Linked DNA regions of Homo sapiens: region 2 is linked to region 1. The links are contacts of gene promoters, found by promoter capture Hi-C in blood cells and fetal thymus (Javierre and others, 2016). All regions are on one chromosome and are shown on one strand. Each heading gives the region's core, a stretch centred on a gene start or on the middle of the fragment in contact. The rest is flanking DNA. Distances are from core to core; before and after follow the strand shown. Region 1 holds the start of ITGA1 (integrin subunit alpha 1). Region 2 holds the start of LINC02106 (long intergenic non-protein coding RNA 2106).

Region 1 (6,126 bases), core at 1,068-3,567:
AAAAATGATGTATTAGGAGGGTAGACTGGAAGTTGGGTTCAAATTGAAGACAGAAAGATAAGCTCTACAGTAGTGTGCATGGATAAGTATGGTGATGAGTCCCCAGGTTACAAACGGACTCTGAATTGATGAGAAGTTTCCAAATCTGAAAGAGATTGCTAAAGAAGAGCCTACAGAATATAATGACTGATGGGAAAGCAGTCCAATTTCAGATCCCTCATGTGTTGCGAAATGGGCATAAATATAGTGCACACAAGGTTTCTAAATATTTTAAGTCTCTTCCTGGATTCACCAATGTATATTTCACCAACATATATATGAAATTGTAACTTGTTAAACTTCTCTGTTACTTCAAGTTTCACTCTTGTCTTTTTAGAGGATACGCAAACCTCATTTCATCATTTCTACTCTAGAGACTGCTTATTTGGTAGAATGAAAAAGTACAACTTGGATAGTAAACTACTGTATTCAGATTTTGCACAAAAACAACAAAATACAATCTAAAAAAATTTGAGTTGGAGAAGAATCATAGGTCAAATATGTGTAAAAAGTAGTGGCAGTAGCTGGTAAGTTAAACCACTCACCGGCTATAATGCTGTTCAGCAGTTACCACTGTTTGGATTATTGGACATTTCCTGAGTAGTGGGAAATGTTTGGATGAAAAGCCAGTAGCTAATTATTAACTCTCTTTACATTACCTCCCTTCTGAAAAAAGCTCTGCTTGCTGATAATCAACTTCTAAATCATCTTCATAAAACTTAACAATGCTTGGCCATCTAAGGCAGGTCTAAACTAGCTGGCTCTACCCTGTTTTTAGTGGTAAAAATGCTAAATTAACTAGTACTAATAACCATGCCAGCAGTAAAAACACTGAACAATTGAATATCAATGATATGTTAAAGCCAGCTGTTAATTAACCCATTAATAAGGTGATTTTCTTTCACACAGAGATTCTATCGATACACTTTCCCCCCACCTTCTTCCATTTTTCACCATTTCAACTTTCCCCCACCCCAATCAGTAACTGGTAAAAAAGATCTGACCATGAGTTCATTATTGGGAAAATCTTACAAAATGCTATATTTCAAGCTTTTTCTAAATTGGATACAACTTTGCATTTCCACTATGTTTTTAAGTCCCCTCCTTAAAAATACACATTTATGTACAAATAACAATACTATATTTTGCATCTTAAAAGTAGACTGCCCTGTGATATTTACAGAGAAAATGTTCACCATTCCTTTCTACGTTTCAAAATATCCCTCCTCTTGGGTGCTGACATAGAAACATCATTTTGGAACAAGTGGCAGTTTCGTCTTGCATCCCTGCCTTTTCTTGTTCTGCATGGGAAAAAAGCCTAAATAGTAGACAGCAAGAAAATTCAATAATGTCCACTCTGGAACAACCCGAGGGTAGGAATTTTGCATATGTATCAGGCGCCCTATAAGCATCACCCTCCCATCCCATGCCATAAAAAAGGGTGGAGGGGAGGAAATATTCAGCAAAGTCCTAATATACAATGTGTATTGTAAAAACAACTTTAATTTTAAAAGTGAATTCTACCTTCTAAGGTTTTCAGTGCTGCCTCACTCCTACTCCTAGGGTGAAGGACTTTGGAGAGACACGAAAACTAATTCATATCAAAACCAGAACGCGAAACTCCTGCCTGCCCCGTAGCCTGGCCTGAGTACCTGGAATGCCCGAAAGTGGATGGGCGCTCTCTCTTCCTATCTGGCCCATGGCTCTGAGGACCTCCCTCCCCGCTCCAAGCCCCAAGCCCGCGAGCAGGAGATGCTCAGAGAAAAGCGAGTCGCTCACCAGTGAGGAGCCAGCAGCAGGCGACAGCGACCCCTGGGCGGGCGCGGGGCCGAGGGGCCATGGCCGGAGCAGCCTCAGCGCCAGGGGGCCGCGCTGGTTCGCAGGGCAGGACCGGGCGCGGGAGCTGCGCTCTCTGGCTGGGCCACTTATCCCGCTGCCGCGGTTCCCAGTCCTCTGCCCCAGTGGCAGCGGCGCCCAGGAGCGGGAGAGGAGTGATTTCCTGTGTTTTCGTCGAATTCCTCTAAATGCGCTCCACGCTTTTCACATCCCAGACGGATTGCCACATCGCCCGCCCCTTCGCGCTCTTGGTCTCTGAAATCTCACTGGCAGCTTCCCAGGCTCTGTCCGAGACATGGACAAATAAAGCCAGCTTCGCGGGTCCGTGTTTAGGCTAAAGTCCACGGGCTGTAGAAGCAAACCTTAAAGGGACATCTGCCTTTCATTGAGAGGGTGATCTCGTTCTCCGGGCCAAATCCCCTAAGGTGGTAGGAAGGCGGGTAAGGGCTGGACCTTCGGGAGGGTGTTGCCAGCCCAGTGGCTCCGCCTTCACACCCCTTACTTCTCCCGGCCCGGGCAGGGAGGGCGCTTTGACAGTGCCTGGGCGCCCTTAACGGGAGGCAGCTTTCCCGGGTCCATTGCGCAGAGGGATTAGGCCGTCTGTGAAAATGCGAGGATCTGGAATCCCCCCTTCCATCCCCTGCGGACACTTGAAATTCACCGTGAAGTCGTTTTGCACGAAAGGGGGCGTCCCCACCACCCCGACAGGCTCCACTGAGGGCTTTGCTTTCGCTTATGGGGGGGTGGGGGGGTTGCTTCGTTTATGGTAATTCGTGGTTAAAGGGTGGTTGCAGATAAGCTTTTCTTTGAGATAACTAGGATAAGGGGAGAAAAGGAGAAGCAAGACGGAGGAAAAACAGTAAGAGGGAGAGCGAGAAGGGAAGAGAGGAAGAAAAGCAGCCTCCTTGGAAATGGAATGTGTGTGGGCTATTTTGTTTAAGTGAATTAGGATGTTTGTACGCTGGTAATTGAATCTAATAAAGAACTCGGGGCACTACTTTATTTTTTTCTTGCTTGAAACTTTCACGAGTGAAAATGCATTAAGAGTCCAGAAGTGCTTAGGAACTTGCAATGCTTCCCTTTCCTGGTGAGTTGAACAACCTCTCTGAGTCAAAAGCCATATTCACCCTAGCTTCAACCAATGCTGGCTATTTTCAAAATAGCTGTGTCTTAGCGGTTTTGAGAATTTCAAAGACAGAAAGAATAAGTGGATTTGTGTTTAGAGGAATCTGAGGGAAACAGTTCAATTCAATTCTTCAACTCAACAACTAATTGAGCATCTCTAGCAGAACTAGGGCTAGGCAGGACAAGAGTGCCACCCAAAGGAGGGTTCGTTGAGCAGAACGCAACACAGGTAGCACAGAACAGGTAACACGAGGGACAGGAAGGAAGAAGCCCACAGGGTTCACTGGATACATTGCCAGATAGAGGATCACAGCAACTAAAAGCTGGAGAAGACAAAAGTTGAAGAAGTTTAAGGAGCGTCAAAAATGGGGTGGGCAGACCCAAGGAGGTTGAAGGCCATCAGATCTCAGTATGTTGACCCATTAATCAAGAAATTCCTTTTCTATTATGTATCTGAACTGATTCACTATTTAGTAAATACATTAAAAATCTCGTTCTCCCGTTTTTAGTTTTTATAATGTCATTTCTCAGTTCTGTCTTCAAATTTACACAAATGAGTCTCTAGAAAAATTGTATTATGTTGGGTCACAGTTCAATCCCATTGGACTTTACTTAAGTTCCTTTGTTTGTGTTCAATGCTCTCATACCCTGCCAAGGAATTCATTTCCTGTGTATATCTCGTTTCCCTGTTGGTAGTATCAGTTATGTCTTATGCCTCTCAGTATGACTCTCTGTGCTTTGAACAGTAACCAATAGATATTGATTAATTCGTAGACATTTAAAAATCATAGTAAGTACTTTCCCAATGATATTTCTCCAAATTGCTTAGTTTTCAAAAACATATAATAGTGTGTCTATATATACACAATCATGTGTATGTATGTATGTGTACATATATATGTACAGCATATACATACATATGCAAATACATATATGGCATTTTAGCAAATTGCAATATATTTCATTAGAAAAAACAAAAAGAAATTGTAAAATATTGAAATAAAGTAGGGTTAACATATAATATGTTCAAGTTTACAATTACTGGGAAATTTACCTTTCTTCTGGGGGCTAATATATAATTTCAATTTTAATATTTTTATTTCCTCTAGGACTTACAAATTATTGGTGATAACCATCACTAACAGTGATATTGTTACAATTAATTTTCACAAGTTACAAATTTTATGTTTACATGTTTACATATTTATGAATCTTTTATATGTCTAGTCAATACAAATGTAGAGACTGAGAGATAACTATGGTTAGAGAATTAATTTTAGAATCAGTGCTTATTTTCTGAACTTCAATAAACCCAAATACAAATAAATGTCAAGCCGGTTATTTTCTTAACCAATTTTATTCTGACTGACAGAAAGACATGTCATTGAGTAAAGATTTAGAGAAGACAGAAACTTGCCCAGAGTCACAAACTAGTTATTGATATGAGACACTTGATGACAAATGTTTCAGCTCTAGACTTTATACTACATACTTTTCTATTTTAAATGAGACTTGATTTGATCAGATCTCTTTAAGGGTTTGGAAGCATGAGTAGGAGCATGAACCTTATTGTGAACTGCACACGCTTCTTATGAGAATCTAATGCCTGATGATCTGTCACTGTCTCCCATCATCCCCAGATGAAAACGTCTAGTTGCAGGAAAACAGGCTGAGGGCTCCCACTGATTCTACATTATGGTGAGTTTTATAATTACTTCATTATATATTATAACATAATTATAATGGGAATAAAGTGCACAATGAATGTAATGTGTTTGAATCATCTTGAAACCGTTTCCCCTACCCCTGGTCTGTGGAAAAAATGCCTTCTATGAAACCGGTCTCTCTGCCAAAACGGTTGGGGATGGCTGCACTGAAAGATTAGAGACTGAACTGATTAAGAATTTGGAAAGTGGATGTCTATGAAATGAGGCAAGAGTAATTGAGATTATTAACCAATAATCTCAAAAAGAAAAACATATACTTAAAACCAAAGTATTCTTCTTGGAGTTAATCTAATATACTGAGTAAAGTAACTAGAGTAAGTAAGGTTCTGGAGTTACGCTGCTTGGACTCAAGTCCTGGAACCACAATATAGTAGCTGTGTGATTTGGGAAACGTCATCAAGTTTATCTAAGCCTCAGTTTTCTCAAATGTAAAGTGGGAATGAAAATACTGTACTACTTCTGGTCTGAGAATTGCTGTGGGGATTAAATGAACCGAGCCTCTGAGCATTTAGCACAATGCCTGGATTAAAGTAAGTGCTCGGTTAGTATGAATCATTCTTCTCTGTAAATAGAAGAATTGGTATTAAACAGACCATGTAAACAGGGCAGGCTCTGCGTGTGGTAGACCCTGTAGGAAGTGGTGAAATTTGATGGCCATCAGAAGAGGAACTTTAATGTCCGCCTAAAAATATCTCCATCAACTCCTATTATTATTTCTGGAATCCTCGCTTTAAAAATATTTACCTTGGATTAGGGAATTATCTTGAAGATAGTTCTATAAAATGGGTATGCATGAAGACATCAGAACCCATTATAACGTTCACATGAATTTGCTTTTCAAATTGGCTGGCCGTCAGAGGTTTTTTTTTTTTTTTTTTTTTTTTAATTTTTTTACAAGAGAAGAACATTCCGCTAAGAGGTTGGGGGAATAGAAGAGGTTCTAGAACTCCGTGTCTAATGTATGCCAGGGTTCTTTAGCAGTAAGATTATAGGTTCTCAAAGCTACAGGATAAATAAGGTACTCCCACCTGGGTAGTGGGGGTGGTGCTGATTTTACTCAAAAATAAATAATTTAAAAATTGTTGTTTGCTAAAATAACAGATTTTTATAAGAAATATTTTTAAATCATGTTTTCTTTTTAAAAGTCAAATATGAGATTTTAAATACATTTTAAGGTAGCATCAAAGTGTGGTTTTACCCCAACCCCATCCCCTCCACTCTCAGGTGTTAGGGGTAGGTGGAAGTGTACAGAACTGCTTCCGTTTTTACAAAGATTTTATGAAGATTTGGATTTTTAAGTTTTAGTATGTAAGCACTTAGGGGAATATACCCCAAAACAGTGGGGCTAACTCACAAAGCTAACTCATATGGAAAACTTAGTCTAGTTCAATAATTTTTA
Region 2 (6,126 bases), core at 1,968-4,467, 1.8 Mb after region 1:
TTTTTAAAGGAAGCATCAGATAATAGAGAAGAGCCAGTATGCAATATATAAGAAGAAATTATTACTTACTAACAGGAAAGCATTTTTAAGAGGACTGAAAAACCCTGTGAAGTAGAGGAAATTAGGAGATATAATTCAGGTATACTTTTAAAGGGACTTTTGTAAAAGTATTTAAAGAGAAAATAGCTTAGTTACCACAGATGAATAAAGAATTGGCTTAGGTTCTAGAAACCCACTATATCTAAATTCATTTATAGTTGAAAATTCAATGATCTACAATTCTTTGATCTTCAGGGCTGTTTTCTAACTCCAGGATTCAAAGAAATGGAAGGGGTTAGTAAAAATATCTGTGAGCAGAGACATGCAAAAAAATGAGGTCACCAAAAGATCAATGATGAATTATACCTTATTTTAACTTTGTTTAAAATAATTTGTAAAAAGAGTTACACAGCAAAAGCAACAATCTCTACATTTATGTTAAATCCCTGAACATAAACAACTTTAATGAAATGTTTTTAGGGAAAAATAATTCTAAATATGTGATTAAGAAGGAAGAATTCCAAGCAATTAGGCACAGGCAAAGGAAACAGGTGTCAATATAGTCCATCCCTTAAAACTTTCAGCCAGGGGACATCTCTGCTAAAACTTGCAACAATTAATACATTTTTACGTACTAAGTGCCAGTCATTGGCTAAATCCTTTACATGGGTTATCTAATTTAATCCTGCAACAATCCTAAAGGTAGGTATTAAATTTTTACAAAATTCAGGTACATTCATCTTTGAAGTAGGAGATGTAATGTGGTCTGCCACACAAGAAAAATACTAACATAAAAGTGATAAACAACTTTTATAATCAGGAGATGAAGAGTTTTCTGTGGGGACAGCAGATAAATAAATTTGGTAGTACTTTTTTCTGAGGAAAGAAAAGGGTTAACAGAATTACAAACAAAGATAATAAAATAATAAAACTTCTGTACTCACTAAAAGGCAGAATTCAGCACCTAGAGAACACCCGATTAAATTACATTAAATGTTAAAGAACCTGATATTTTACGGTGATAGGTATCAAACAATAAACCCAAGATTTGGTGAAGACCAAAGCTATAATTAATTTCAACAGTAGTTTAGATAAGTTAATTTTTGATAAAAGCTGGGGACGTTTGTGAGGTTTTGATTTGTTCGTTTAGAGAACAGCAGGGCACGATGGCTGACTCCTGTAATCCCAGCACTTTGGGAGGCCGAAGTGGGCGGATTGCCTGAGCTCAGAAATTCAAGAACAGCCTGGTCAACAAGGTGAAACCCTGTCACTAAATCAAACTAAACTAAACTAAACTAAAAATACAAAAATTAGCTGGGTGCGGTGGCGGGCGCCTGTAATCCCAGCTACTCAGGAGGGTGAGGCAGGAGAATCACTTGAAACCGGAAGGTGGAGTTTGCAGTGAGCCGAGATCCCACCACTGTGCTCCAGCCTGGGCAAAAGAGCTGAACTCTGTCTAAAAAATAATAATAATTCTCAAACACTTCTAAGTTTAAGGACTGAAAATACAGTGGCAAAGTTGCTGTCTGTTGAAGTATGGGCAGATGGCCAATAAGGTGGTATTTCTACTAGGAAGATGTAATTGGCCATTCCTGAAACGTTGGTTGGGTATCTTTCTGGGAAAGCTCCTCATAGTCTGCCATGCCTAATTCTAGATCTCACAGGCTTGGAAACCTGACTTTTATTTTATTTATTTATTTATTTATTTATTTATTTATTTATTTATTTATTTATTTTGAGATGGAGTTTCGCTCTTGTCACCCAGGCTGGAGTGCAATGGTGGGATCTCGGCTCAATGCAACCTCCGCCTCGCGGGTTCAAACGATTCTCCTGCCTCAGTCTCCCAAGTAGCTGGGATTACAGGCGCCTGCCACCACGCCTGGCTAACTTTTTGTATTTTTAGTAGAGATGGGGTTTCACCATGTTGGGCAGGCTGGTCTTGAACTCCTGACCTCAGGTGATCCACCAGCCTCAGTCTCCCAAAGTGTTGGGATTACAGGTGTGAGCCACCACACCTAGCCGGAAACCTGACTTCTTAGCAAACTGTCTCTCAGAGCAAAATCACTTTAACCACAGTGATTAAGACCAGAATCCATTGATTAAAACGTTTTGTGTGTTTACATGTATGTATATATGTGTGTGTGTGTGTGTGTGTATATATATATATATATATATATATATATATATATATACACAAAAAAGATCTCAGAGACCTAAATACATTCCCATTACTTAGCAGATATAAACAGCAATTTCAATTATAATCAGAAAGTTTCTTGGTGAACATGGAATCAGAATAAAGAAAGTTGAGGTGGAATTTCCTTGGTCCACATCTCTTCTGCCTAGCTGGTGGTTGAATGAAAATACACCATCAATTGTGTCTATTACTCTTTTTGCCAGTCCTTCAATCAGGTTATAATCTAACCCTCTATCAGCTCAGAAGACCAGGTACCTCTTTTTTCTTTCCTCAAATCCATTAGATATTGAATTATAGCTTAAGATTTGGAGGGCAAATATGTGTTGCTTATTTCAAATTCTATTTATTGACTCACTCTGCCCACATCCTAACAAAGACGATATAGAAGACCAACAGAGTTTCCTATTAATTGTCCTTTCATTCACAAGAAAGAGACATTGCTCTGACCAGCATGCTCTGACTGTCAGGGAACTTATTATCATCTTAAATAAGATCAAATTATGTTCAATAATGAAGACAAGAGTAGGAAGAAGCCACCTTGAATCCAGTGGAACTGCTGTGCTCTGAAGTAATGGTAAGGGCACAGGACTTGTCTGTTGTTTACCCATGAATGCTGTCCTTAGAATCTTAGACAGCAGCACCACCTCACCTTAATGTGTCCTTAGAGACAGCTGAAAGCTTGGTGTAACGACATACATCTAAGGATACCTTTATAAATGATAAGGCAAATTGGTCCAAACAAAAATTAAGCCTGACCTCAAAATATATCTTTTAACTAGTTATTTTTATAAAATTCAAATGCCATAGAATGTGCTGTCTGCTTACATAGACAAAGCTCTTGATGCATTTTGAGATGCCAGTTGTTTGATGGGTGAATTGTAATGAAGCTTCCTTTAAGATTATCTGCAGAAGCAGACAAGTGATCATTGAATTTAGTTTGCCATCCTATGGCCTAGGCTCCTGTTGTCATGAAAACCTGAAATTGATTGCCAAACACTTGCACAGTAATTTTGAGATTCTTATAATTTAAAGCTCAATCATTTCTTGACTGAAGGATACTTATTGAGGAAGCTTCCATCATCAACCTCCGTTTAAAAAATTTCTTACTGTGTGGATTTTAATCAGGGCAATAAAAGGATCATCCACAAGCTCCACATCACTCAGCCATATTAAATTATGATGTAATCTAGTAAAAAAATCAATAAGTGAGACCCAGTAAGGAACCTGAGACTGTTCAAGACTAGAATGCAGGTAGGCACCATATGGCCAGAAATGAAGTGACTACGTATTATCTTCAACCAGGGACATTGGATTTACTCAGTTTCTTTGGGCTGGGCAAAAATGACCTTGTAATGCATTGAGTTATAGGCTAGCAGACATTAGGCACCACACTATCCCTTCAAGGTACGGTCTTTTTAACAAGTCCTAGGAAGGGCTGTTTGAGTTAATTCAGAGCCCGCAGAAGGGCTCACAACAACCTCCTTGTTTTGTCCTAACGTGAGCTGATCCTTCTTGCATCAGGTGGCTCCTCTGACTGTCCTGCCCTTTGGGTACTGGGCAATTAATCCACAAACGCAAAATCCTGAACCCTGGGCTAAGAAAATACGAACTGATTTGGTAAACAAATGATATGTAAAATCTATACGCACAGAGTGGCAAGTGACAAAGGAAATTGCAAATGCCCCTAAATGCTCTTTCCCATCGATTGGCAGAGAGAATCTAACACATACACAGAGGAGATGGAGCATAAAATTGGGCGGACTGACTCAGAGGTTTGTTTTGATTTTTAAATCATTTGTTAAAACTAAAAATGAGTGTGCGTACGCGTGGAGAGGGGGAACAAGGCTTCTCTAATCAGCAAAGGGGCTGTCGGCAGGCGATGTACAAATGAAAGCGCGCTTTCTAAATTTCCAAAGCACTAAAGGGAGAGAAATGCGCAATTACTGTGGGATTCGCCCAGAGGAGCAGCCTCAGGAGTTGAAGGGGATCCTGTCCCTCCCAGAGGAAAGCTCACGATTGGATTGGAACTTCTAGCGACTGCCTGAGGTGAGCTTCAGGTGGGGACCGGCCCCGCCAAGTCCGAGGCAGTTATCCACAAGAAAACACGCGCGTGCCCCCGCTGCTCCTGCGTGGTGGTCGTCCGGAGACAGGCGCCCTGCAGGGCATCTAGAGGGCCCCAAATGGCTCAGCCGGGCCCGCGGCGCAACAGGCTGCACAATAAATTAAAACAATAGTGAGAATAAGCAAATGGTCTGGAGGGCGGGCGGAACCGAAGCTCGCTCTTCGGAGCTGGAGTGCCGCGGGGAGGGGGGTGTCAGCGTCCCAGGGATGAGACCTTCCCCTCCCCCTTCCGCTCCCCGGCACCCCCTCGACCAGACGTCTCTTCCGTAGGCGCGTCCTCCGGGTCATGGGGAAACAGAGGCAGAGACTTGGGAAGGAGAAATGGAGAAACCAGGGCAACGTGGTCAGTGCTGCAGCGCCATCCCTTTTTCACTAAGACCACCCTGGGCCCCTGGGCGGGAAGCCCTTCGCACACTCCAGCCGGGGAGAGTCCGGGCTGGGTTCCGCAGCGCCTGTGGCTGTGTGGCCGGGAGGCTCCTTGCTCTCGCCCGCGTGGTCCTGAGATCGGTCGCTCGTTCCCACAGGCCCCGGGATTGGCTGCACCACGCAGCTGTTGTCCAGTTCCGGAGCTGCCGCGTTCAATCCGAGTCCCTCCGATGCTTTCACTGATATTAAAATTTCACTTTTCGAACTGGCCTTTTATTTATTTTTTTTTACGCAGTCGTTTTTGGGAGGCAACAACTCGGACATCCTGTATCCGTAATCAGATAATCTCACTCCTGCTTTTGTATTCCTGCAGCTTTAAACTCTGCAAATATTTGTGTCCTTCACAAAAAAAGGCGTTCCTCAGTCTACCTCCAACCTCGCCGGGCAACTTATCTTTCCCAAGTTCACAGCCTGACTCCGGATCTCTTGGTCTCTTGTGATCTTGCAGCAATTCAGCAGAAAAGACTCGGTTTGGGTTTTGGTTTGTGATGGCTAATAATGGGGGTTTTACCCCCCTGATGTTTGGGGGATTTGTGCTTGTTTTATGATTACTATTTTTCTTGTTTCCTGCAGTCAAGGAAAACTGTCTGTGTTACAAGCAAACTTACTGTCCCCTGCCTCAGGGACGTGAGTTCCAGTCCTGGACACTTTACTTTCTCTCTCTCCGGTCTTCCCTGGCCCACGGTCAGTTTCTTAACTCTCCTTGTCCTTGATCTTTTCCCGAAATGCCTGGACCCTCGCCTTAGCCCCTCCTCCGATTTGCCCCTTTCTTTAATTTGTCTTGTGTGTTAGCGCTGGGTCAGCGCGCCCTTTGTGCTGAGGTCCTGGGCCGGTGTGTGTGTGTGCGTGCGTGCGTGTGTGTTGTAGTGTGTGTTTCTTTTGTTATTTTCTCCCCTAACACCGCAGAAATGAAACACACATGCAGCTCTGTCGCCTCATATTTTCAGATGTTTTTCACACTATTGTCTGCTCCAGCCCGTTGAAAGTGCAAAGTGAAAACAGATGCATCCAAAAAATTTTTTTTGAAAGGGACAATCCTAGGATGGAGACTAACCCCTCGAATACAGATAAGCAATAAATATTGTATCAGATTTATAACGTGCATCGAGCAGTCTTGATTAGCACCAAGGTGAGCTTTGGTGAGATTTTTATCATTTCCATGTGTCTGGACTACAAGAAGAAATCACTGGGGGAAGAGCTCTATAAATCAGCGTCCATGTCAAGACAAATCAAAATAATGCCTCTATTATTTCAATCAATAAACCATTTTTATTCCCAACATCTGATACACACAGTGTGTGTCCGTCTGTTTGTATTTGGAATTGGCAGCCTTGCCTTATACC

The links. Contacts are between HindIII fragments. The CHiCAGO score rates a contact against its expected background, and 5 or more counts as called.
Region 2: a fragment that was not itself captured here is called in contact with the fragment with the promoter of ITGA1 in region 1 in 2 of 17 cell types (M0 macrophages and M1 macrophages); the score reaches 6.8 in M0 macrophages.

Annotation. Positions count from the first base shown.
Region 1 is chr5:52,784,107-52,790,232 of GRCh38, reverse strand. It overlaps ITGA1 (integrin subunit alpha 1), which reads right to left and starts at 2,317. Exons shown (of 29, transcript NM_181501.2): 1 at 1,819-2,317. The coding sequence starts at 1,879. PELO (pelota mRNA surveillance and ribosome rescue factor) reads right to left here and starts at 2,317. Exons shown (of 3, transcript NM_015946.5): 1 at 1,819-2,317. PELO-AS1 (PELO antisense RNA 1) reads left to right here. Exons shown (of 5, transcript NR_186455.1): 2 at 4,641-4,698. RefSeq lists an enhancer at 2,350-2,629. The HindIII fragment of the contact is 1,585 bases long and covers 1,092-2,676 here.
Region 2 is chr5:50,968,079-50,974,204 of GRCh38, reverse strand. It overlaps LINC02106 (long intergenic non-protein coding RNA 2106), which reads left to right and starts at 4,018. Exons shown (of 2, transcript NR_104653.1): 1 at 4,018-4,282; 2 at 4,628-4,988. RefSeq lists an enhancer at 4,017-4,538. The HindIII fragment of the contact is 184 bases long and covers 3,126-3,309 here.